Linked DNA regions of Homo sapiens: all the other regions are linked to region 5. Evidence: promoter capture Hi-C in human tissues and cell types (Jung and others, 2019). All regions are on one chromosome and are shown on one strand. Each heading gives the region's core, a stretch centred on a gene start or on the middle of the fragment in contact. The rest is flanking DNA. Distances are from core to core; before and after follow the strand shown.

Evidence for each region. Contacts are between HindIII fragments. The study calls those that stand out against the background at their distance.
Region 1: a fragment that was not itself captured here is called in contact with the fragment with the promoter of GFOD2 in region 5 in 1 of the 25 tissues and cell types used here (mesenchymal stem cells).
Region 2: a contact is called between a fragment that was not itself captured here and the fragment with the promoter of GFOD2 in region 5, in 2 of the 25 tissues and cell types used here (bladder and hippocampus).
Region 3: a fragment that was not itself captured here is called in contact with the fragment with the promoter of GFOD2 in region 5 in 1 of the 25 tissues and cell types used here (mesenchymal stem cells).
Region 4: a contact is called between a fragment that was not itself captured here and the fragment with the promoter of GFOD2 in region 5, in 2 of the 25 tissues and cell types used here (hippocampus and lymphoblastoid cells).

The regions. Positions count from the first base shown.
Region 1 is chr16:68,205,800-68,210,720 of GRCh38, reverse strand. All of the region lies in intron 9 of NFATC3 (nuclear factor of activated T cells 3), which reads right to left. It also overlaps the pseudogene RPS12P27. Among named protein-coding and RNA genes, the nearest start is that of MIR6773, 25 kb to the left of the region's middle. The HindIII fragment of the contact is 3,682 bases long and covers 64-3,745 here.
Region 2 is chr16:68,002,549-68,007,480 of GRCh38, reverse strand. It overlaps the pseudogene KARS1P3. Among named protein-coding and RNA genes, the nearest start is that of DPEP2, 5.5 kb to the right of the region's middle. RefSeq lists an enhancer at 122-895. The HindIII fragment of the contact is 4,078 bases long and covers 1-3,948 here.
Region 3 is chr16:67,442,007-67,446,664 of GRCh38, reverse strand. It overlaps ATP6V0D1 (ATPase H+ transporting V0 subunit d1), which reads left to right. Exons shown (of 8, transcript NM_004691.5): 3 at 1,959-2,137; 4 at 3,487-3,566. Among named protein-coding and RNA genes, the nearest start is that of HSD11B2, 13 kb to the right of the region's middle. RefSeq lists enhancers at 1,284-1,907, 2,532-3,155. The HindIII fragment of the contact is 3,547 bases long and covers 1,508-4,658 here.
Region 4 is chr16:68,072,228-68,077,076 of GRCh38, reverse strand. It overlaps DUS2 (dihydrouridine synthase 2), which reads right to left. Exons shown (of 17, transcript NM_017803.5): 13 at 2,922-3,043; 14 at 1,573-1,722; 15 at 358-445. Among named protein-coding and RNA genes, the nearest start is that of NFATC3, 11 kb to the left of the region's middle. RefSeq lists an enhancer at 1,646-1,755. The HindIII fragment of the contact is 3,051 bases long and covers 1,755-4,805 here.
Region 5 is chr16:67,716,792-67,721,380 of GRCh38, reverse strand. It overlaps GFOD2 (Gfo/Idh/MocA-like oxidoreductase domain containing 2), which reads left to right and starts at 2,065. Exons shown (of 3, transcript NM_030819.4): 1 at 2,065-2,218. RefSeq lists silencers at 2,148-2,197, 2,258-2,307 and an enhancer at 2,668-2,747. The HindIII fragment of the contact is 6,116 bases long and covers 1-3,598 here.

The DNA of each region.
Region 1 (4,921 bases), core at 655-3,154, 490 kb before region 5:
TCAGCAGCATATTAAAAGGATGATACATTAAGACCAAGTGAGTTTTATTCCCAGAATGCAAGGATGATTCAACAAATGAAAATCAATTAAAGTAATATGCCAAATTAGTTGAACAAAAGAAAAAAAAACATACTCCTGACTGGCATGGGCAACATGGCAAGACCCTACCTCTACAAAAATTAATTTAAAAACCACATGATCATCTCGATAGATGCAGAAAAGTGTTTGTAAAAATTCTTTTATTTTTTTTGAGACAAGGTGTCACTCTGTCACCAAGGCTGGTGTGCAGTGGCACAATAATGGCTCACTGCAGCCTCTACCTCCCAGGCTCAAGCAATCCTCCCACTTCAGCTTCCCAAGTATTTGGGACCACAGCACCTGGCTAATTTTTTGTATTCTTTTTTTTTTTCTTTTTTTTTTTTTGAGAAGGAATCTCACTCTGTCGCCCAGGCTGGAGCGCAGTGGCATGATCTTGGCTCACTGCAAGCTCCGCCTTCCGGGTTCACGCCATTCTCCTGCCTCAGCCTCCCGAGTAGCTGGGACTACAGGTGCCCGCCACCATGCCCAGCTAATTTTTTTGTATTTTCAGTAGAGATGGAGTTTCACTGTGTTAGCCAGGATGGTCTCAATGTCCCGACCTCGTGATCCGCCCACCTCGGCCTCCCAAAGTGCTGGGATTACAGGCGCGAGCCACTGCACCTGGCCATTTTTTGTATTTTTAGCAGAGATGGGATTTCATGTTGCCCAGGCTGGTCTTGAACTCTTGGGCTCGAGCAATCTGCCCACCTCGGCCTCCCAAAGTGCTAGGACTACAGGATTGAGCCAACATGCCCAGAGTGAGTGTGACTGTGAGTGTGTGTGTGTGTGTGTCTGTGTGTGTGTTGGGGGGCAGGGGGGTTAGCCAGAGTTTTATTCGTTCATTTCTTGCATTTGAAGTACTTCAACTACTACACAACTGCAACGAACCACTTTACGGGGTTTCCCCTCTCTGTCAATTTTACAGAGACCTAACCATTCCCCCTAGCTTCTTGTCATCAACCTTAAGTAGGTTGATTTGGTGTTCAGCACAAAGAACCTCTATGAACTTGACATAGGCTCATCACAGTTGGATGCAAACACACAAAAGATGGGCCTGACCCTTCAGCAGCTTTGCAAATTCCACGTGCTAGGCCATCATGGGTGAGGACAGTCTTCAACACCTCTTGTAAAGCAGTATTAACAGCCACCACACCTCCAGCAGCAACACCTTCCGTGGCCATGGTGGTGGTCTACGGGTGAAGCTGAATCTTGAATGCACCCAAGCCTCTGCCTCCACTCAACTCAGCAGTGGCAGGGAAAGAACTCTTTTTCTTTGAGACGGTCTCACTCTGTTGCCCAGGCTGGAGTGCAGTAGCATCCCAATCACGGCTCACTGCAGCCTCCACCTCCTGGGTTCTAGCTATCTGCCCGCCTCAGCCTCCCAAAGTGCTGGTATCACAGGCGTGAGCCACCGTGCCCAACTCATTTATCAAAATTCAATGCTCTTTCAAGATGAAAACATTCAATAAACAAAGAATAGAAGGAATTTCCTCAATATGAAAAAGGCCATATATGAAAAACTGTTAGTTCCTATCATTATCAACAAAGAACAAAAGCTTTCCCCCTAAGATCACAAACAAAGCAAAGATGCCCACTCTTTCACCACTTCTACTAGCCTACCACTAGAAGTTCTAGCCAGAGCAATTAGGTTAGAAAAATAAATAAATACATAAAGCCCATCCAAATTAAAAAGGAAGAGAGAAAATTATCTCTATTCACGAATGGCATGATAGTATAAACATAAAACTCTAAAGAATCCACACAGACAAAAAAATGTTAGCACTAACAAATAAAGTCACCAAAGTGGCAGAATATAGAATCAACACACAATATTCAGTTGTACTTCTATATACTTGGAATGAAAGGTCCAAAAAAAATTAAGAAAACAATTCTTGTTTTGGGGTTTTTTTTTTTGGTTTGTTTTTGAGACGGAGTCTCAGGCTGGAGTGCAGTGGCATAATCTTGGTTCACTCCAACTTCTGTCTCCCAGGTTCAAGCGATTCTCCTGCCTCAGTCCCACAAATAGCTGGGATTACAGGCATATGCCACCACACCCAGCTAATTTTTGTATTTTTAGTAGAGACAGAGTTTCCCCATGTTGGCCAGGTGGGCCCACGTTAGCCAGGTTGGTCTTGAACTCCTGAACTCAGGTGATCAGCCTGCCTCAGCCTCCCAAAGTGCTGGGATTACAAGTGTGAGCCGCTGTGCCCAATCTTAAGAAAAACAATTCTATTTACAGTGGCATCAAAAAGAATAAAATACTTAGGAATTAACCAAAGAGGCATAAGATTTCTACATTGAAAACTAGACCGGGCATGGTGGCTCATGCCTATAACCCTGCACTTTGGGAGGCTAAGGCGGGTGGCTCACCTGAGGTCAGGAGTTTGAGACCAGCCTGACTAATATGGAGAAACCCCATCTCTAATAAAAATACAAAAAATTAGCCAGGCGTGGTGGTGTGAGCCTGTAAACCCAGCTACTCAGGAGGCTGAGGCAGGAGAATCGCTTGAACTTGGGAGGTGGAGGCTGCAGTGAGCCAAGGTCATGCCACTACACTCCAGCTTGGGTGACACAGCCAGATTCCGTCTCAAAAATAAATAAATAAATAAAATAAAGGATTTGGATAGACAAGAAAATATACAAATGGACAACAGGCACATGAAAAGATGCTCAACACCATTAGTCAATAGGGAAATGCAAATCAAAATTATAATGAATATAACTTAATACCCAGTAGGATGGCTATTATTTTAAAAATGGAAAATAACATGTGTTGGCAAGGGTATAAAGAAACTGAAAGCCTTATACATTGTAAATGTAAAATGGTGTGGCTGCTGTAGGATTAAAAAAAATAGTGGTTCCTCAAAAAGTTGAACATGGAGGCTGGGCTTGGTGGCTCACGCCTGCAATCCCAGCACTTTGGGAGGCTGAGGAGGGTGGGTGACCTGAGGTCAGAAGACAGATCAGTGTGGCCAACATGGTGAAACCCCGTTTTTACTAAAAATACAAAAATTAGCTGGGCGTGATGGCACATGCCTGTAATCCCAGCTACTCAGGAGGCTGAGGCATGAGAATCGCTTCAACCCAGGAGGCAGAGACTTCAGTGAGCCCAGATCGCACCACTGCACTCCAGCCTGGGTGACAGAGTGGGACTCCATCTCAAAAAGAAAGTTGAACACAGAATTACCATAGGACCCAGCAATTCCACTCTTACGTAAACACACAAAAGTACTGAAAAGAGGGACTCAAACAGTATGTATGCCAGTGTTCACAGCAGCATTATTCCCAACAGCCGAGAGGGAAACAATACAAATTATCTTTTTTTTTTTTTTGAGATGGAGTTTTGCTCTTGTTGCCTAGGCTGGAGTGCAATGGCATGGTCTCGGCTCACTGCAACCTTTGCCTCCCAGGCTCAAGCGATTCTCCTGTCTCAGTCTTCCGAGTAGCTGAGATTACAGGCGCCCACCACCATGCCCAACTAATTTTTGTATTTTTAGTAGAGATGGGGTTTCACCGTGTTGGTCAGGCTGGTCTCGAACTCCTGACCTGAGGTGATCCACCTGCCTCAGCCTCCCAGGTGCTGGGATTACAGGCGTGAGCCACCGAGCCCTGTCCATCTTTTTTTTTTTTTTTTTTTAATATGTATGCGTTCATCAACTTTTTTTGAGACAGGGTCTCTGTTGCCCGGGTTGGAGTGCATGGTGCAATCTCAGCTCACTGCAACCTCCATCTCCTAAGCTCAGGTGATCCTCTCATCTCAGCCTCCTGAGTAGCTAGAACTACAGGCGCACACCACCACGCCCAACTAATTTTTAAATTTTTTATAGACATGGGGTCTCGCCATGTTGCCCAGGCTGGTCCTGATCTTCTGGGCTCAGGCAATCCACCCACCTCAGCTTCCCAATGTGCTGGGATTAGAGACGTGAGCTACTGTGCCTAGGCCCAAATTATTTTTCACCAGATGAATGGATAAACAAGATGTGGTGTACACAAAAAATTGAATATTATTCCTCCATATGGAATATTATATGTAAATAATATGCTATATAAAAATATTCCAATAGATTATTCCTCCGTATGCTTACAATATGGATGAGCCTTGAAAACATTATGCTAAGTGAAATAAGCCAGACAAAAAAGGAAAAACATTGTGTAATCCCACTTATATGAAGTATCTAGAGTAGGGAAATTCATAGAGACAGAAAGCAGAGTACAGGTTACCAGGGGCTGGGAGGACGGGAAGGAAATGAGTAGTTATTACTTTAATAGAGTTGTAGTTTGGGTGATGAAAAACTTCTGGAAATAGAAAGTGGTGGTGGTTATACAATATTGTGAATGTATTTAATGCCACTTAGCTATACACTTAAAATGATTAAAATGGTAAATTTTGAATTTTAAACAAACTTTGGATTTTCTCATGGGAGAACATTGTGTGAAATGACTTAATTAGGTTTTCACAGCTCTAACCATTAACTTAAAGCAAGACTTAGAGGACTTTTGTAAATCCCTCTTTTAAAATTTATAAATCTGGATACATTCAACTCATACCTCAATGAGCTAATGCACCTAACAAAGGGCTTCTATAAATCAGTAAGAGGAAGGATCAACAATCTAATAGAAAAGTAAGCAAATATGAAAGAGATCATAGATTTGGGAGGTGGGGGTTGCAGTGAGCCGAGATGGTGCCACTGTACTCCAGCCTGGGCAGTAGAGCGAGAATCCATCTCAAAAAAAAAAAGAAAAAAAGATAGTGGTGCAAATATTCAAAGCAGTATTTTATAGAATATTTTATGGAATATTCTATTTTAAGAATATCTTTTCAAGGAAGCTCTTTTATGTTACA
Region 2 (4,932 bases), core at 660-3,159, 290 kb before region 5:
TAATCCCAGCACTTTGGGAGGCCGAGGCGGGTGGATCACGAGGTTAGGAGATCGAGACCATCCTGGCTAACATGGTGAAACCCCGTCTCTACTGAAAATACAAAAAAATTAGCTGGGCATGGTGGCGGGTGCCTGTAGTCCCAGCTACTCGGAAGGCGAGGCAGGAGAATGGCGTGAACGCAGGAGGCGGAGTTTGCAGTGAGCCGACATCACCCCACTGCGCTCCAGCCTGGGCAACAGAGGGAGACTCTGTCTCAAAAAAAAAAGACCCTGTCTCTACAAATTTTAAAAGAAAAGTACTGTTAACTTTTATAAGGGTCATAATGGTATGGTAATTGCCATTTATTTATATATTTATTTATTTTATTTTATTTTTCAGAAACAGGGTTTTAGTATGCTGCCCAGGCTGGCCTCAAACTCCTGGGCTCAAGCAATCCTCCTGTTTCAGCCTCCCAAATAGCTAGTAGGACTACAGGAATGGCCCAGTGCACCTGGCTTATAGTTGTCTTTTAAAAACAGCCATTACCATTTATTTATTTATTTATTTAGAGACTGAGTCTTTCTCTGCTGCCCAGGCTGGAGTACAGTGGCATGATCTCAGCTCACTGCAATCTCTGCCTCCTGGGTTCAAGCAGTTCTCCTGTCTCAGACTCCTGAGTAGCTGGGATTATAGGTGTCCTCCACGACAACCAGCTAATTTTTGTATTTTTAGCAGAGATGGGGTTCGCTATGTTAGCCAGGCTGGTCTCCAACTCCTGACCTCAGGTGATCCACCCACCTCAAGCTTCCAAAGTGCTGTGATTTCAGGCAAGAGCCACGTGCCCAGCCTAAAAAGAGCCCTTACCTTTTAGAGAGGCATACTTAAAAATGGATGAAATAGATGTCTATGATTTGCTTTAAAATAATCTGTAGAAAGAGGTGAGTGAGAGCATAAATGAAATAAGATGAGCCATCAGTTGGTAATCTTTGAAACTGGGTGATGGCTACATGGGAGTTAATACACTTTTCTCTCTCCTTTCTCATGTATTTGCAATTTTTCCTATAAAAAGTTTTTTGGTCTGGGCACAGTGGCTCATGCCTGTAATCCCAACACTGTGGGAGGCTAAGGTGGGAGGATCACTTGAGACCAGGGGTTTGAGACCAGCCTGGCAACATGGTGAAATCCCATCTCTACCAAAAAAAAAAAAAAAATTAGCTGGGTGTGGTGGCACCACCCTGTAGTCCCTGCTACTCGGGAAGCTGAGGTGAGAGGATCACCTGAGCCCCGAATTTGAGGCTACAGTGAGCCATGACGGCACCACTGCACTCCAGCCTAGGCCACAGAGGGAGATACAGTTTCAAAAAAAAAGTTTTGTGTTGTTGTTTTTAACTAAGCTTCTCAGATTCACCCAGATGCGGAGTCAGTGAGATCTCACATGGTCAGCTTCACAGGAGGGCAGGCTTTCTGCATAAAAACAGGAAGCTTAGAGAGCTCCGGGGCAGGGTGTGCTGTGACTTCACTGTGTTTTTGCAGAAACAGGTCTGATAGCCCTCGGAGATCAGCAGACAAGGTTAAGCAAGAGACAGCAAGTCTGAATTTGAGGTTAAATGTGAAATCACACATGTTGTCTAGATGTTTGGTCAGCACTGGCTCCTGGATCTTGGGGGCCTCTACAGAGCCCACCCTCCACCCCCATGTGCTTATGCCAGCACATGTGATAGCTGGAGACTTATCCAGCCACCTCACTGCACACCCCAGCAAATGGCCAGCACCAGTGGGTGATCAGGAAATGATGCCCGGACAAACTGATAGATGTAAGGAATTTGAGGCTGGGCACAGTGGCTCACGCCTGTAATCCTAGCACTCTGGGAGACTGAGGTGGGCAGATCCCTTGAGGTCATGAGTTTGAGACCAGCCTGGCCAACATGGAGAAACCCCTGTCTCTACTAAAAATAAAAAAATTAGCCAGGCATGGTGGCGTGCGCCTGTAATCCCAGGAAGCTGAGGTAAGGAATTTGAGGCCTTTCCTAGAGGCAGCAGCTGGAAGTGGAGGGATTGAAGGAACCCCTCATCTGACCAGCTGCTCAATTTTCTTACCCACACGATAAGGCTGGTTCCTTAACTACACGGCCACGTGAAAAAAACAAAAAACAGGGCCAGGCACAGCGGCTCATGCCTATATTCCAGTACTTTGGGAGGCTGATGTGGGAGGATCACTTGAGGCCCGGAGTTCGAGACCAGCCTGGACAACATGACAAAACCCCATCGCTACTAAAAATGTGAATATTTAGCTGGGAGTGGTGGTGGGTGCCTGTATTCCTGGTTACTCTGGAGGATGAGGTATGAGAATCCCTTGAACCCTGGAGGCAGAAGTTGCAGCGAGCCGAGATTGCGCCACTGCACTCCAGCCTGAGCAACAGAGCAAGACTTCATCTCAAAAAAAAAAGAAAAAGAAAAAAAACACAATTTTGGGTCCAGGCCCTCTGGGAAGATGACTGCAGTACAAGGGGCCAAGGTTAAAGTGGATGGTGGTGAGTCAAAACTGAGCAAGAACAAGCCGAAGAGATACCTGAAAGCCGAGAAGAAAGTGGCAGAGAAGGCAGCCAAGCAGTAAGAGCTCAGTGAGAAACAGCTAAGCCCAGGTCACTGCTGCTGCCACCAACCATACCACTGACAATGGTGTGGGTCCTGAGGAGGAGAGCCTGGACCCAAATCAGTACTACAAGATCCACAGCCAAGGCCAGGCCCGGTGGTTCACTCCTGTAATCCTAGCACTTTGGGAGGCTGAGGCAGGCAGATCACTTGAAGTCAGGGGTTCGAGGCCAGCCTGGCCAACATGATGAAACCCCATCTCTACTAAAAATACAAAAATTAGCTGGGCATGGTGGCACATGCCTGTAATTCCAGCTACTTGGGAGGCTGAGGTAGGAGAATCGCTTGAATCTGGGAGGTGGAGGTTGCAGTGAGCTGAGATTGAGCCACTGCACTCCAGCCTGGGCAACAGAGCGAGACTCTGTCTCAAAAAAAAAAAAAAAAAAAAAGATTTGCAGTCAGGTAGGTCAATGGGAAAGACCCATACCCCAACGAGATCCATGTAGACATCTCCCTCACTGACTTCATCCCAGAATATTGTCACCTGCAAACTGGGGATCTCCTGACTGATATCACCTTAAACGTGACAGATAGGATCCATGCCAAAAAAGCTTTTGGAGGAAAGCTGAACTTCTATGATCTTTTTTTTTTTTTTTTTGAGATGGAATTTCACTATTGTTGCCCAGGCTGGAATGCAATGGCACAATCTCAGCTCACTGCAACCTCCTCCTCCCTAGGTTTAAGCAATTCTCCTGCCTCAGCCTCCCTAGTAGCTGGGATTACAGGCGTGCGCCACCACGCCCGGCTAATTTTGTATTTTTAGTAGAGGTGAGGTTTCTCCATGTTGGTCAGGCTGATCTCGAACTCCCAACCTCAGGTGATCTGCCTGCCTGCCTTGGCCTCCCAAAGTGCTGGGATTATAGGCGTGAGACACAGTGCCCAGCCATGAACTTCTATGATCTTTGAGCAGAGGGGGTCAAGTTGCAAGTCATGGCCAATTTCAGGAATTATAATTTCAGGAAGAATAATTTATTCATATTAATAACAAACTGCGTTGGGGAAACATAATTGGAATTCAGAGGAATCCTGGGAAAAACCAAGAAGGATGAGCTGAGCTTCATTCCCTATGAGATCACACTGCTGTGGCCTTGCTTGTATATGTTACCTCATCTTCACTTTGGCCTCAAAGACAAGGAAATAAGGTATGGTCAGAGATACTTGGACTTGATCCTGAATGAATGAGGCAGAAATTTATCATCTGCTGTAAGATCATCACATGTATAATAAGTTTCTTAGGCCAGGTGCAGTGGCTCACGCCTGTAATCCCAGCACTTTGGGAGGCCAAGGCAGGCAGATTGCCTGAGGTCAGGAGTTCGAGACCAGTCTGGACGACATGGTAAAACCCCACCTCTACTAAAAATACAAAAATTAGATGGGCGTGGTGGCAGGTGCCTATAATCCTAGCTACTCAGGAGGCTGAAGCAGAATTACTTGAACCCAGGAGGTGGAGGTTGCAGTAAGCCAAGATTGCACCACTATACTCCAGCCTGAGCAACAAGAAAACTCCATCTCAAAAAAAAAAAAAAAGTTTCTTGGATGAGCTGGGATTCCTAGAGCTTGAAACTCCCATGAATGAACGTCATCCCAGGGGAGCTATGACCAAGCCTTTCATCACTTATCACAACAAGCTGCACATGAACTACTCTAGAACTCTACCATAAGATGCTAGTGGTTGGTGGCATTGACCAGGTTTATGAAATTGCATTCCAGTTCTGGAATGAAGGAATTGATTTGACGTAAAATCCTGAGTTCAGCACCCCTGAGTTCTACATGGCCTAGACTATCACAATCTCACGGAAATCACGGGGAAGATGGTTCCAGGGATGGTGAAGCATAATACAGGTAGTTACAAGGTCACCTACTACCCAGATGTCCCAGAGGGATAAGCCTGCAATATTGACTTCACCCTACCCTTCCGGAGAATCAGCATGATAGAAGAGCTTGAGAAAGCCCTGGGGGTGAAGCTGCCAGAAAATAACCTATTTGAAACTGAAGCAATTGGCAAAATTCTTGATAATATCTGCGTGCAAATGCTATTGCGTGCCCTCCACCTAGGACCACAGCCAGGCTCCTTGACAAGCTTGTTGGGGGAGTTCCTGGAAGTGATTTGCAACAATTCTACATTCATCTGTGATCACCCCCAGATAATGAGCCCTTTGGCTAAATGGCACTACTCAAAAGGTCTGACCCAGCGCTTTAAGCTATTTGTCATAAAGAAAGCGATAAGCAATGCCTACACTGATCTAAATGATCCTATGCAGCAGTGGCAGCTTTTTGAAGAACAGGCTAAGGCCGCAGGT
Region 3 (4,658 bases), core at 2,032-4,531, 280 kb after region 5:
GGTATGTGAGATGTTGGAGGCCTCATAGGCAGGAGGCGTGTGTGCTGTCCGGGGTAGAAAATATGCAGGCTGGAGCTGCAGACCATGGCCCAAAGCTCTGGCGAGCTCTGAGGTCCCTCACTCTGCCAGCACTGTGGGGTTGGGGGCAGGAGGCTGCCCATTTGGGCCTCTTGGCTTGCAGCTGCAAGTGGGCCCTGCTTAAGGCTCTCAGTTATGGTTGGGAGTTAGGGGACTGTCTCTTCTCAGTGCACATCCTGTAGCTGACCCAGCCAGATTGGGGGTGGAGAGAGGGCAGTTGCCTGGCTCCAGGCCCAGGAGAGCAAAGGTCTTCGCAGGGCGCCAGGCTGGGTGGGAGCTGGGGGAGTGCAGAGCAAGCAGGGGGAGTGGGGGTCAGGCCAGGACAGGAGCTGGGGCCTTTTCCTCCTGCCGCCTTTCTAGAGGGCCCTGTGGGAGCTCCCCCAGTGGCCAGTGCTTTGAGCCGTGGCCTGGGCCCTGGGCTGCCACCTCCCCTCCTTTCTTTCTTCAGTATGGGGGAAGACACCTCCTACCAAGGTCTTCTCTGGACAGCCTGAGCACTAGTTGCACAAGGTCCTGTCACAGGGCAGGGGCCTAGCTCTGGCCCACTCAGAAGCTAGGACAAGACCCGTGTTCAGTGCCCAGCTCAGAACAGCAGCCTCCACCCCAACTTTTATCCCATAGGTGCCTCACCTTGACCTTGGAGGAATTTCCCCTAGGCCTCATTTAGCTCCCTCATACCCTGAGTTCATCTTTGGTGACAGACTGGAGGATAGTTGTGGCTACTGCAGCCTAACTGTGGAATGGGGCTTACTGCCTTCACTGCATCCCCACACAGGTGACTACACAGAACTCTCTGCCCCAGCCCCTTTGTAGCTGGTTGGAGGCAGAGCCTTGTCCCTTGCCAAGTCTGAACTGGGCAGTCTCACCCCTCCCCAGCTCCACAGCCCCCTCTGCTGCCCATGTACCCCACAGAGCTGGCCTTCTGCAGGGCAGAGTGATGGGAGCCTCGGCCTGGGATCGACCTGACCCAGCCTCCTGTTCAGGTCTCTGGGTCTTATCCAGGCCGTCCTGGGTGAATGCCCAGCCCTGGCCTCAGGCCCTAAAAGAAGAGGACAGTTCTCTATCTCTGGCATAGGCTGTGCAGGTCTGCCTGACCTGGGCCTTCATTCCAGAGAACCCCCACTGGCTCCTTGCTGGCCTTCCCTGGAGAAGCTTCTCTCCACTCCACTCCTCAGCCTTTCCTCCTGTCGCTATCTCTGCCTCTTCCTCTTCTGTCCCCACTGGGGGACAGAGTGACCCTAACTGGATGGCGATTCCCCTGCTTACACCCTGCTCATAGATCCCTAGTGCTCAAAACAAAGCCAGGGCCCTCCAGGCCCAGCCTCTGCCCCCCGCCTGCTGCAGCCCCGTGCTGCCGGCTGCTGCGCCTTTCTCTCCCTCTGCCAGTCCTGACCATGCCAGTTCCTCCAATGCATCCGTCACTCAGTGAGTGCCTCCAGGCCTTTGCACATGCTGTTCCCTCTTCCCAGAACACACTTTCTTCTCCCAGCCCTTTAATTTCCCAGGCTCTCACGCTCTTCACCCCCTGGGCTGGGCTGCATGTCTCACCTCCTGTGCCCCATTCCTGTGTCCTGTTAGAACACTGTTCATGCTGTGGGGTAGTTAGCTCGTGTCCCAGTCCCTCACAGGGCATGAATCCCCTGCCCCCGCCCGTTTGGGGGGCCTGTGTCTGTCCTAGGCCTCTGGCAGTGGGGGTGGTCAGAAGCTTGAGAGGAACATGGGGAGGGAGAGGAGACACTGGTGCTTATCCGCAGCACCCATGAGTCAGCATACATTGTTAAGGGGTGATGGCCTGTGCAGGCGGGCGAGGGCATGGTGCTATGCCAGGACTTCCCGGCCCCCACCTTGATGGGCTCCTTGCTATTGCCTGCCCCCTGTAGTTACAGTTACATGATCGACAACGTGATCCTGCTCATCACAGGCACGCTGCACCAGCGCTCCATCGCTGAGCTCGTGCCCAAGTGCCACCCACTAGGCAGCTTCGAGCAGATGGAGGCCGTGAACATTGCTCAGACACCTGCTGAGCTCTACAATGCCATTCTGGTGGACACGCCTCTTGGTGAGCCGCTGTGGTGGTCATGGGAGGTGGGCAGTGGTGTCAGCATCAGCGCATCAGGGTGGGGTTTGTGGACCCGCTGGGGGGCGACCCTGAGCCAGAAAGTGAGACCTGCCCACTGCTGCTTACCTTTGTCTCCCTTCAACTTCCTCCTCCGATTCTCTCCTCACTTCACCCCTCTTCTGCTCCTGTCCTGTTGCTTTTGCTGGGCCAGGCAGGCTACCCAGGGCCTGACTGGGACTGTCTCACTTTGTGAAGCAGTCTGATCTCCCAGAGTGCAGAGGAGGGCTGAGCTCATGGAGAAGAGTGAGAGAGGCCCAAGTCCCTTGGAGTCCCGAGAGCTCTGACAGACTGTGGCCCGGAGCTGGAGCCTGAGTAAAGCCAGAGTGGCTGCCTGTGAGGCAAGGAGCGAAGCAAACACTGCCACTTCCCTCCACCGAGCAGGTCCCCTGGGCCAGGTCAGACAGCATCCAGCAGGATGCAAGGTCCGTATCAGAAGCCAGGGAAGGGGAATCAAGAGCTTCCTGCAGAGCCCTGCTTAGGCAGTGCTAGTTCCTGCCTGCTTAGGAGGCCGAGGAGAAGGCATTAAGTGTCCTTGTAGCCAGAGTCCTGGGCCTGGGGTACCACCTCTAAGAAGCCACCAGGGTTGAACTACAGGGCTCTAAGCTGCACTGGGTTCTGAGCTAAGAGGCCTGAGCCCTACCTGCTGACCTTGTCTGCCGTAGGCTCTCCCAGCAACTCTGAGCTGGTTCTGGGCTGTTTGTGGCTTCTTCAGTTTCTCCATCTTTAATGAAGAGATAGACCAGTGAGTCTGCAGGCCCTCTTGGGGGATGGGGGTGCTCTATCCTGCTCTGGCCTCTCTTTCCAACCCCACAGTGGCCCCCTGGGTCGCTGGTCTGTGCCTACCCTGCTGTTGGACTTGTCCTAAGGAGGAGGCTGGTTTTCCAAATGTGGACGCCAGGCCTTCCTGGGAGGTGTAGAGAAGTAGGCGTTAGGCCCCGAATCCACAGCTGCCCCTCCAGAAGGGAGGATGTCATGGCCTCTTATGCAAGCCTGTCTTTGGCATGGTCTGAGCTTGGGTCTGCCCCAGCGGTGATTAGATCATGTTATGGCTAGCTGCCTCCTTTATAAATCAATTTTAGGAGCAAGGAGGCAGGAGAAGCTCAGGTCAGTGTACATGGCCCAGAGCATTGCTTCTGCCACTTCCAAGGCAACAGCCTAGGCTGGGGACCCCTCAATACCCAGCCCTGTGGGCCTTGTGGCACGGGCACTCTGTGCCGTGTAGGGCATTTGAACATCAGGATTCTGGCCTAGGCCACCTGCCCACCCCTCAAACCATGTTTCCTCCCCAGCGGCTTTTTTCCAGGACTGCATTTCAGAGCAGGACCTTGACGAGATGAACATCGAGATCATCCGCAACACCCTCTACAAGGTAATGCCCCACACAAGCCATGGGGGATTGGCCTGTCGGTGGGTGGGGCTGTGGGAAGTGGTAGGGTGGTGATTTATGTGAGGTGCTGGGACAGGATGCAGCTATGTCAGGCTCCTATCCCAGGGACTTACTGCTTATTCTCTGGCTCCCATGCTGGGCACAAGGCTGTGTGGAACAGGTTCTCCATCCCATAGTGCCTGTGACGGGCTCAGATAAAATCAGCAGGAGTGGCTGGTGCTCCACCGCTGGCCTGTTACAGCTGGCTCCTGGACAGCCGCTCCCCCAGCATCCAGGAGGGTCATGGACTACCACCCAGGCCGTGGCCCCTGGAACCGCCCTACCTAAGCTATTGCCAGCAAGGACAGGCACTTGAGCAAAGGCAACAGTGTGCTCACTTATGGTGGGGGGAGGGATCTGGCGAGGCATAGCTAGGTCCTCATGTCCCTCGTAGGTTCCCAAGCTTGGAGTCAGTGCCACTTCCCACTGTCCTCATCCCCTGCCCACCTCTTGCCTCCCACCAGGCTGTAGCATAGACTGGGCAACCCCTGAGGATTTCTGGGTCAGCACTACCCTGGCCCAAAGAGATTAAAGAGCCAGGGGACCGGAGAGGAGAGGAAAGTTTAAAAATTTAAAAAAAAAAAAAAAAAGCCCGAGACCAGTTAGGTTAGGGGTGTCTGGGATAGACTCTGCTCTGGCTGCGGTGAGGCACTGAGCTATAGCGCCAGGACCCCAGATGGGCTGCAGTCAGGAACATGGATCCGCAGTGGGCAGGCCCCAAAGCAGGGCTGAGGATGGCCCTGGCCGAGGGACCTGCTGACCTCACCTGTCTATTGGGTGAGAGTCCTCTCCTGCCCTGGTTGGAGCGAGCTGGCTGACATTTGGCTGCAGCCTGAGCCCAGGCCTGCCAATCTCCCTGCAGGGGCCTGGGCCAGAGCACAGTGAGGGTTGGTGGTAGGGGAAGGGCCTGCCTGGAGGTTGCAGTGGTGTCGGCAAGGGACCAGCACGTGCAGAAGGAAAGCATAGAGCATGGGCCAAGTGGCAGGCAGTTTGCTGTGGAAGGACACATTCCAGATGGACAGGGGAGAAGTCTAG
Region 4 (4,849 bases), core at 2,031-4,530, 350 kb before region 5:
CACCATCTTAGCCAGGCTGGTCTTGAACTCCTGACCTCGTGTTCCACCTGCCTCGGCCTCCCAAAGTTGTGGGATTACAGGCATGAGCCACCGTGCCCGGCTGAGACCACATTTCTAAAAAATAAAAAATAAAAATTAGACTCTGTTTCAAAAAAAAAAAAAAGAGAGATGTCTGGCTGAACTGGACAACAGGCCACTGTAAGAGGGGAGGGCTATCAGCAACTGACCTGGCCACCAGCAGCTTCTCCATGCCTACAGAGGTCAAGGCCAGGCTCCAGCCTGGCAATCTAGAGTTGAGGGTGTAAGCCATGGGAGTGCTGTGACTGGCTGCAGGGCAGGCCACAGCCAGGAACTCACCGTTTCATACACAGGCTGTGCCAACTTCTCCCTCCGGCACCACTCTAGTAGGCACATCTTAGGGGTGATCTGGGCTGGGTATGCTCTCCTGGGGAAAGGAAGGGAAGCAGTTGGGGTCACCCACCATCACCGCTCCCTCCCTCAGCCAGGGCACTACTCAGCTCCTGAAAGGAGCTGCAGAAATGAGAGGAACTGAGACACCGAGCTGCTGCCTTAAGGCTTCTGTACTTGCTCCCCTAGGCTCCCATTCTTGTCCTACCAGCAGCTTGGACCTGGGTTCTCCCTAAAGGGAAGATGAATTTTGGCATGCTCAAGAAATTGTAAGGGAAGGGGGAATGAACTCCCAGTACTCTGAGGTCCAGACTGGAAAAACAATGTTCAACATCCAAGAAGGAAGCTTGCCACTCAAGACAAGATTAGTAGGGAGTGGGTGGAGGTGGGCAATGGAGGTAGCCAGACAATGGTCTCGGGGATCTAGCTCAGCGCCCATCCTGATTCCGCCTGCCAAGTGTCATGATCATCTGCTGCAGCCATGGACACTTGGAATCTGGTTTCAGAGTCAGCCTGTGACAGGGTGACACAGTGACAGGGTGGGAGGGGTCATATTCCAACTTCCCAACTGGAACTCTCCCTGGCATCTGACTGCCCAACAGCTATTCCCCACCACCCTGCTCCCCCTCTCCACACCTCTGCCAGACAAGACTGGCTCCTGTCTGGTCCTGGGGACTGGAGAAAGGCTCAGATCCCAGAGGAGGGCACCATTCAAAGCTGAGTCACAATCTGAGGCGTAAGCAGCTTGAGAGAGCACCACAGAGCTGGTGAGGGGCACTGGGTGTGGGTAGGGGCTGCAGAGCCAAATGAGGGCTAGGGTCCTGCTGTTGTTTGAGGAGCTTCATGCCAGGAGCCAGTTCCTCAGGGCCTTGGAAAAGCACAGACTTTCAGGAACAGGAGACAAGTCCCCCCTGCCCTGAGTTGTGGGAGGCGGTAAATCAGGGAAAAAGTAGAGTTCAGTTATCCTTGGGACAGCCTTTCAGGGACTATCTCCCCTGAAAGCACCTTCTATGGGATGCTGAAAATTTAGAACGAGTTTCCAAACCAACAAGACCTGTGGTCCCTACGTTTGACATTAAGCACATACAGCAGCCAGTGTGCTGGCCCAGTGGGACCCCAAGGGTGCTGGCCCTAGCCCAAGCTGAGGCCAAGCTGGAGACCTACCGGTCAAACTTGACAGCCATCTTAATGACACCAGAGGTATCTTCAGCTGGCTCCCCTGTCTGCTCTGAAGTCTTGGCTGAGAGCCTGGCCTGCTGGGCATCCAGCTCCTGTGTGGTCTCCTCATAGAAGGCACCAAGGCCAAAGGCCTCACTAGGGAGGAAGAAGCAGATCAGAGCAAACACTTTAGCGGAGCCAGCATCCAGGGTACTGCAGGACCCCAGGGCCCCACCACTGAGAAACTCCTCTACCACATACACCAAAACACCACCGGGGCCTGGCCATCAGAATGTGCCCCCTGCCCAGCCCTGGGATTACTGTGGACTGGAAGATGGAAAGTGAATGTGAACCCAAGCGTGGACACTGGAGGGAGGCTGGGCTGGGTGGCAAAGGTTGTAAAGGTCACCCCCACCACCTGCAGCCTCTCTCCTGAGGGGAAGCACACAGATGGTATCCCCAGCCAGCCGTGACTGAGTTAACCAATGCTGATCAAGCACATGGGCCCATGGGAGGAAGAGACAGAGGCCTGACCACTAAGTGGTTCCCCACTTCCCGCCCAGCCACAGGCAGTTATACATGGGTCTCAGCTGACACTGAGGCACCACCCAGAGCTACAGAGTTATGTGGGGTAGGGACTGAACCAATGCCATAAGCCAAGGGTGGGAAGAGGGCTCTGGCAAAGGTTTTTCCCTTCTAGGAAACATCTTGAAGGCTGGAAGACTCAAACGAAGATAGATCCCCAATGGCAAAAGTGGTTCAGAAAGGCATCTATGTAAGAGGGAGGCTACAGATAGCTCACGTGAGAGGGAGAGAGCCTTCCAGGCAGACGACCCATTACAAGCACAGGTGTGGAGTTCTGGAAGCAGACAGGTAGACAGGGAGCTGTGGGGGCAGTGGCTAGGCCAGCTTGTGAAGGGCCTCAACTGTCAACCATCTGAGCTAGAGCTGCACCTGATCTAGAGAATCAACAGGTGGTCTCTCAAACTGCAGGGTGATGGATGTGAGTGCAGGCTCAAGGTAGAGGCTCCATGCTACAGCCCAATTCTCCTGACCACTGGTTCCTGGGGGCCTGGCCTGTGACTATCCCATTTATGGAAAATCCCCTTCCTTTGCATTCCTCTATCCTTCTAGTACCCTAGTTCCCAGAGCTCTGCTGATCCGTCCAGGGATGGGACGTTTCAAAGCTTTCAAAGAATCCCCTCCTGGGAGGCAAAGCTGTACCATCACTCCACTCCTCTACATCTACATCCAGAAGCTGTGTCCCTGGTCCCCTGGTGGAGTCAGCTTAGGGCTCAAAGTCAAACTTGGGCAATGCGTACAAGGACAGATGGACATCTTATTGTGCCTCTTACCAAATTTCCCGGGAAGACTGGGCAGCATGGAGCAACCTTCCCTGGGGCGACTCCAGCTGTTCTCGTAGCATCTGGCACAAGCAGTACTTGGTGTTGGTGTAGTGGTTGTCATACTGCACCGCCTGAGAAAAGAAATGACTTGCCTGATGCCCAGGCAGGCTCTAAGGCCTGGGCTATGCTCTGATGGCAGGGAAAGGAGCTCCAAGAAGGCACCAGAGATGTATGTGTAGCCAAGGCAATGTGACCCCCATAAGAAGAACCACCACTGGCCAGGAGCAGTGGCTCACATCTGTAATCCCAGCACTCTGAGAGGCCAATGCAGGAGGACTGCTTGAGGCTAGGAGTTCAAGAGCAGCCTGGGCAACGTAAGACTCAACTCTACAAAAATTAAAAAAAAGAAAATTATCGGCTGGGCACGGTGGCTCACGCCTGTAATCACAGCACCTTGGGAGGCCAAGGCGGGCGGATCACCTGAGGTCAGGAGTTCAAGACCAGCCTGACCAACATGGTGAAGCCCCGTCTCTACTAAAAATACAAAATTAGCTGGGCGTGGTGGCGGGTGCCTGTAATCCCAGCTACTCGGGAGGCTGAGGCAAGAGAATCGCTTGAACCCTGGAGGCGAAGGTTGCGGTGAGCCAAGATCGTGCCACTGCACTCCAGCCTGGGCGACAACAGCAAAACTCTGTCTCAAAAAAAAAAAAAAAAAGAAAAAGAAAATTAGCCAGGCATGTTGGCACACACCTGTAGCCATAGCTACTAGGGAGGCTAAGGCAAGAGGATTGCTTGCACCCAGGAGTTGTGGCTGTAGTGAGCTATGATCATGCCACTGCACTCCAGCCTGGGCAACAGACTGAGACCCTATCTAAAATTAAAAATAAAAATAAAAATAAATTAAAAAGCCACTTCGACCTTGGTCATCTACTCTTCCAGCTAGTGGTACAAAGCTTGAGGGTCACAGCCAAGGACCACGGTCAGAAACACATTCTCCTGGACAGCCTGACTGAGGTCTCGAAGTGCGGGAGCCCCTTCCTGCTTCAGCCACCACAGAGGACCTACTGCCAAGTATCTTCCAGGGAAGGGAGGGGAAACACACCAAATTCTGGCATGGCAGGTCCAGTGCCAGGAAAGGGGTGAGATTCTTCTATTCCTTCTAACCAGAATGGGCACCTTCCCTTCCCACATCTTGAATAGCCTCTAACTTCCCCCTACGTGGGTAAAACACAGCATCATTTAGTTCACATGGGTTACTCATGACTACATTTATCTATACAAGTGTGAGGTGCAACTGTCACCATCACTCCACAGACCGTGAAATGAAGGCTCAGGGAGGCAAGATGACTGACTGCCTGGGACACCCAGTGGAAGTCGGCTGGCTAGAGGTAGGGCAGGAGAGCAGTATTGGGTGAAGGTGGCCTTCCCCAGCCCTCCAGGACACCCTCCCATCCCCCACCCCCTATGCTGCTCTAGTAACTCCACGTGGGCCTATGACTTCAGTGGCTGGGAAAGTGCCACGGCACGCTCAGGACAAAGTGGGAAGTAAGTCGGGGCGCCCCGGCTGGTGGCAAGTCCTTGACTCAGCTTGTCTGGGAAGAAGGCACCTGGCTGGACCAGAAGCAGCCCTGCCTATGCTTGAAAGCCGCTCCCTTTCTCTGTGATAGCACACCCTCTTGAGGAGCTGCCAAGAGATGGCTCAGCAGGAATGATAATATCACCTTTCACCCAGTGAGCAAGCTCAGCACTGTTCAGCACGTCTTCTTGGCCAGACTTGCCAGCTGGCCAAAAAGCTGGATAGCTGACCTGGGCTGGGGCAAGCCCTCCCTTGCCATGGAGCTATCCCAGACCATTGGAGAGCTGGTGGTCACCAACTTGCCCAGCAGGACACCAGAACCAGGGAGTGAGGGCTGCAGCATTGAACAGGAAATAGGACA
Region 5 (4,589 bases), core at 816-3,315:
TTAACATGGAAAGTTAACCTCTTTCTCCGAGACTGTTTCCCCATCCTTAAAACATGGTAAATCCTTCTGCCCCGTGGAGGTAGAGGATTATGGCAGATATACAGCAGTGTTTGGCACACAGGGATACACACAGTACACATGAGCATCCTTCCTCCATGAGGATGCCCAGTGGTGTGACTGGCCCACTCCTGCCTGCCCTGTCCCCGAGGCACCAGGGTTTTATGCAGAGGAGGGATACGGTAGATCATGCTGGTGTCCACCTGAAGGTGGTACTGGAGACAAATTGGAGCAAAAGAACCCAGGTAGGAGGCTGCAAAGAGGGCAGGTTTGAGAAAGATTTAGGAGAGAATTGGAGGTACAAGATGAATAACTGAATGTGAGGGAAATAGGAGAAGCAAGAGACAAGGCAAATGCAGACTTTGGTTGGGGGTGATGGGATGGATAATAGTACCACAAAATAACACAGAACAGAAGGGGGCAGGCAGTGGCTAAAAGTCACTGGAATTGGGAGGTTTGCCAGTAAATTAGGGGAGGTTTGCCAGTAAAAAAGTCACTGGAATTGGGAGGTGGTCCAGTAAATTAGGAAAACTGTCTTATGGATGTTCACAGTGATCGCCACCAGCTAATTAAAAGCTCAATCCTGTGTTAAAATGTGTTGCTTAACCCTGCACTTTCCAAACTTAAGTTACTACAGACTGTGTCACTCAGCAGAATCTTACAGGACTATTACTCTATAGAATGCTCTTAGGGAAGAGGTAGCATAAAGGGGAAAATATGGGTTTTAGATTAAGCATAAAGTCCTGGTTCTATATAAGTAAAGCCAGAGTAGGCTCATTTCCCCCTAGACTAGTGGTTCTCAACTGGGAATGATTTTGCTCCCAGGGAGACACTTGGCAATGTCTGGAGATATTTTTGGTAGTCACAACTGGGCTTGGGGTGCTACTGGCATCTACTGGGTAGAGCCAGGGATGCTGCCAAACATCCTACAATGCAGACAGCTCCCCCCACCCCTGCCCAACAAAGAATTATCAGGTCCAAAATGTCAATAGTGCCACTGTTGAGAAATCCTACTCAAGAAGAGTGGAACTCCGAACAATGACTAAGAAACAGATCAAACAGGCACATTTTGACTCTGCCTTCCTTCTGCCTGGCTCTAGAGGATCCAGGAGAGAAAGGATAAAATCCCATCAGAAGAGGGGGGGTTTAGGGGTTACAACTTCTCATCACTTTGGAAGCCTTCCATGCTCCTCACAGAGGTGGTAGGAGTCCTGTCTCCGCTCAAAGCAGGGATAGCTCTGCTGCTAGTTAGCATATCTCAGTAGGAACTGCCTCACGCTTAGGTCAGCTGACATATTCTGTCACCACAGGCTGCTCTGGAATGATGGCTGGGAGATCATCCTAATGCCAGCTGAGTGGGGATCTTGATACTCAGCAGGAGGGTCAGACAAGCAGGGACGGGGGCTCCCCATGCAGATACAAACCCCAATCACATTTCCTACACAGGCAGTTTTATTCTAAGGTCTAACGGCTTCCTTACTCTAGCGGATAGTTTGCTATTTGGTGGGGCATAGGCTTCAGTAAAGAGGCCAAGGGGACTGAGGTTACAGTCTTGAAGAGCACTGATATTTAAGGAACAATCAAAAAACATCCAGAGGAAGAGGAGCCCAGACAGGCACCTGAGAAAACGGAAAAACGAGTCACTGGGGGTCAGGGAGCCAGGAAGTCCGACGAGTTCGAGAGAACTGGCCTTCTGCAGATATGTCCTTGTCCAACACGAAACCGTCTTTCATTCCAGGACAACTGAGGCTACCCACAGCTACCAAAACCTGGTCCCTGACGCCGGTCAGCGGACCGGAGAGAAGCCAAGCTTAGGAAACTGCCGCCTCCGCCGCCGGAAATGAATAACCTGAGCCTCCTAGCCAGGCTGCTTAAGCTCCGCCCCCAAAAAGCGAGCATGCGCAGCTCCCGGCTACGGCCCCTCCCAGCGCAGGCCCATCCCCGTTATGGAGCATGCGCAGTCCTCCTGCCGTCCCGCCCCTCCCTTTCCAGAGCCCCCAGTTCCTTAGAAACCAGGCGGCGCGTTCCCGGTGGCGGCGCCCTGGACTCCCGGGCCCGCGCATCCCCGCCAGCCTTCCTTAAGGCGGATGGGTGGCCCCCGAGACCCCGTCGGACCCATGGTTTCCAGTGCAGCGCGGAGTGGGCGATGCCAGCGTGCCAGGTGAGAGGCGGCCACCGGTGGCGGGTGAGGGCGAAAGAGGGCATGGCGCGGCCGGGAGCGGGCGCCGACAGGGCCTTCTCCGCGGCCCGGCGCCGGAGGTTGGAGGCGTGGACCCGCAGAGCCGGGGTTGGAGGGGGCTTGTTCCAACTGCCTGCAGGCGCGTGGAGTGGAGGGTCGCCTTGGGATTCGCCCTTTCCACCGCAGAAATAGGACCCGCAGGCTTGGTGGTAGAATTATAGGATTTGGGATCCTGGAAGAACCTGAGACATAACCCATCCTTTTACCAGATGCAAAAACCTAGTCTCCCCCGCCCTGTGCCGAGCGGACCACCTGACTGTGTGAGGATGGACGCTTTGTGGATGAGGATGTGTGAGGTGTAGAAGCTCAGACAAAGGGCTCGTGGGGTAGCTGGTTCGTCCCCTTTCAGAATGAGATGGGACTTTTGGGGATAAATCTTTAAGAAACGGGTGTTCAGTTGACAGGTGGAAGAAGGGACACCCCAGAAGGTGCGAGTGGCTCTGCCAGCTCCCATGTGCCCTATGGCCACGTCTCAATGGCCCTGGCCTACCTTTGTATTTGTAGCTCTGGAAGGAAGCAGATGGACTTGAGACAAAAGGTGAAGTGAGGTCTTCCCATCAAGGCCCTATCACACTTAAAAGGTGAGGGAGGAAGAGTGGACAGGGACATGAGGGCTTGGGAATGGTTGTGTGAAGAGTTTACCCTCCAGACTACAGCACGATCTAAAGAACAAGGCAGGATAGAAGAGTTGAAAGCTGTATTGGATAGGCATCAGGGAAGCTTATTTAACTGTCTTATTTATGTTCATTGTTCCCATAATGTTATCCTGAGGGCAAGAAAGTGGATGTCCTTTTAAATGTCCAGAAAGAACTAGGGCAGGGCACCACCTTTGTGATCTGTGGGGCCCAAAAGCCTCTAAAGGAATAGCCCTTAGTGTGTGGCCCTTAAGTTGAAGGGAACAGCATTTAATTTAGAAAAGGAAGGCACTTAAATTTATTGTGATATGGAGCAATATAGAGAAGATGGTTGTTTTTGAGTCGGGGAAGCTAGATTCATTCTTGATAAGGAAACTTATTTCCTTCTGGAAAGCTACACTAGAGAACAAAAGAGTTTTAAGGCCATCCATTTTACAGGAAACGTGAAAAAATTAACTGCTTTGGGATTGGGAGTTTAGAGAACCTGCCTGGACCAAGAGAGGAAATTTTCAACAGACGGTTCTGTTGGTCGAATCCTTATTTCACAGATAAAGATTCTGTTGTGAGAGGTTATCTCTTACCACCTGGTTTTCCCACTTTGCCATGGAATAATCATTGGTCTGGGTCTAATTCTCTATCTATCTATCTATCTATCTATCGAGACGGAGTCTCACTCTGTCACCCAGACTGGAGTGCAGTGGTGCGATCTCGGCTCACTGCAATCTCCGCCTCCCAGGTTCAAGCGATTCTCTGGCCTCAACCTCCTGAGTAGCTGGGACTACAGGCATGTACCACCACGCCCAGCTAATTTTTGTATGTTTAGTAGAGAAGGGGTTTCACCATGTTGGCCAGGCTGGTCTTGAACTCCTGACCTCAGATGATCTGCCTGCCTTGGCCTCCCAAAGTGCTGGGATAACAGGTGTGAGCCACCACACCCAGCCCTCATTATTATTTTTATTTGCTAGGGCAATTGCTATCTGATTTCTATAGTAATACTAGAACACATTGGTAGTAGAACTAGCAATTTTTTAGAAAGCCTCCTCTGACCCAAAACTTAAAAATTAGAACTATGTGATTTTTAAAAGATGGTCCCTGATTCTAATCATCAAAGTCAGTTTGTCCCTAGCTTGATAAAAACTAATTTTCTATTTACATTTGACTTTGCAGCAGGTTTTTCCCCTTGCCCTTATAAGAAGATACATTGGAAGTATAATAATGTTAACAGGTGAAATCAGTTTAAAGAAGAAAGCTTTGGGCCGGGCGCAGTAGCTCATGCCTGTAATCCTAGCACTTTGAGAGACCAAGGTGGGTGGATCACCTGAGGTCAGGAGTTTGAGACCAGCCTCACCAACATAATGAAACCCCGTCTCTACTAAAAATACAAAATTATCGGGGCATGGTGGTGCACGCCTGTAATCCCAGCTACTTGGGAGGCTGAGGCAGGAGAATCGCTTGAACCTGGGAGGCAAAATTTGCAGTGAGTCGAGATCGCGCCATTGCACTCCAGCCTGGACAAGAGCTAAACTCTGTTTCAAAAAACAAAAAAAGAAGAAGAAAACTTTGTCTTGGCTTCATAATTCAGCATCATACCATAACTATGGGTATTGTGACTGTGCTTTTTACCAACTTTTCTTGCACCTGTGGGGTTATTTTGTATA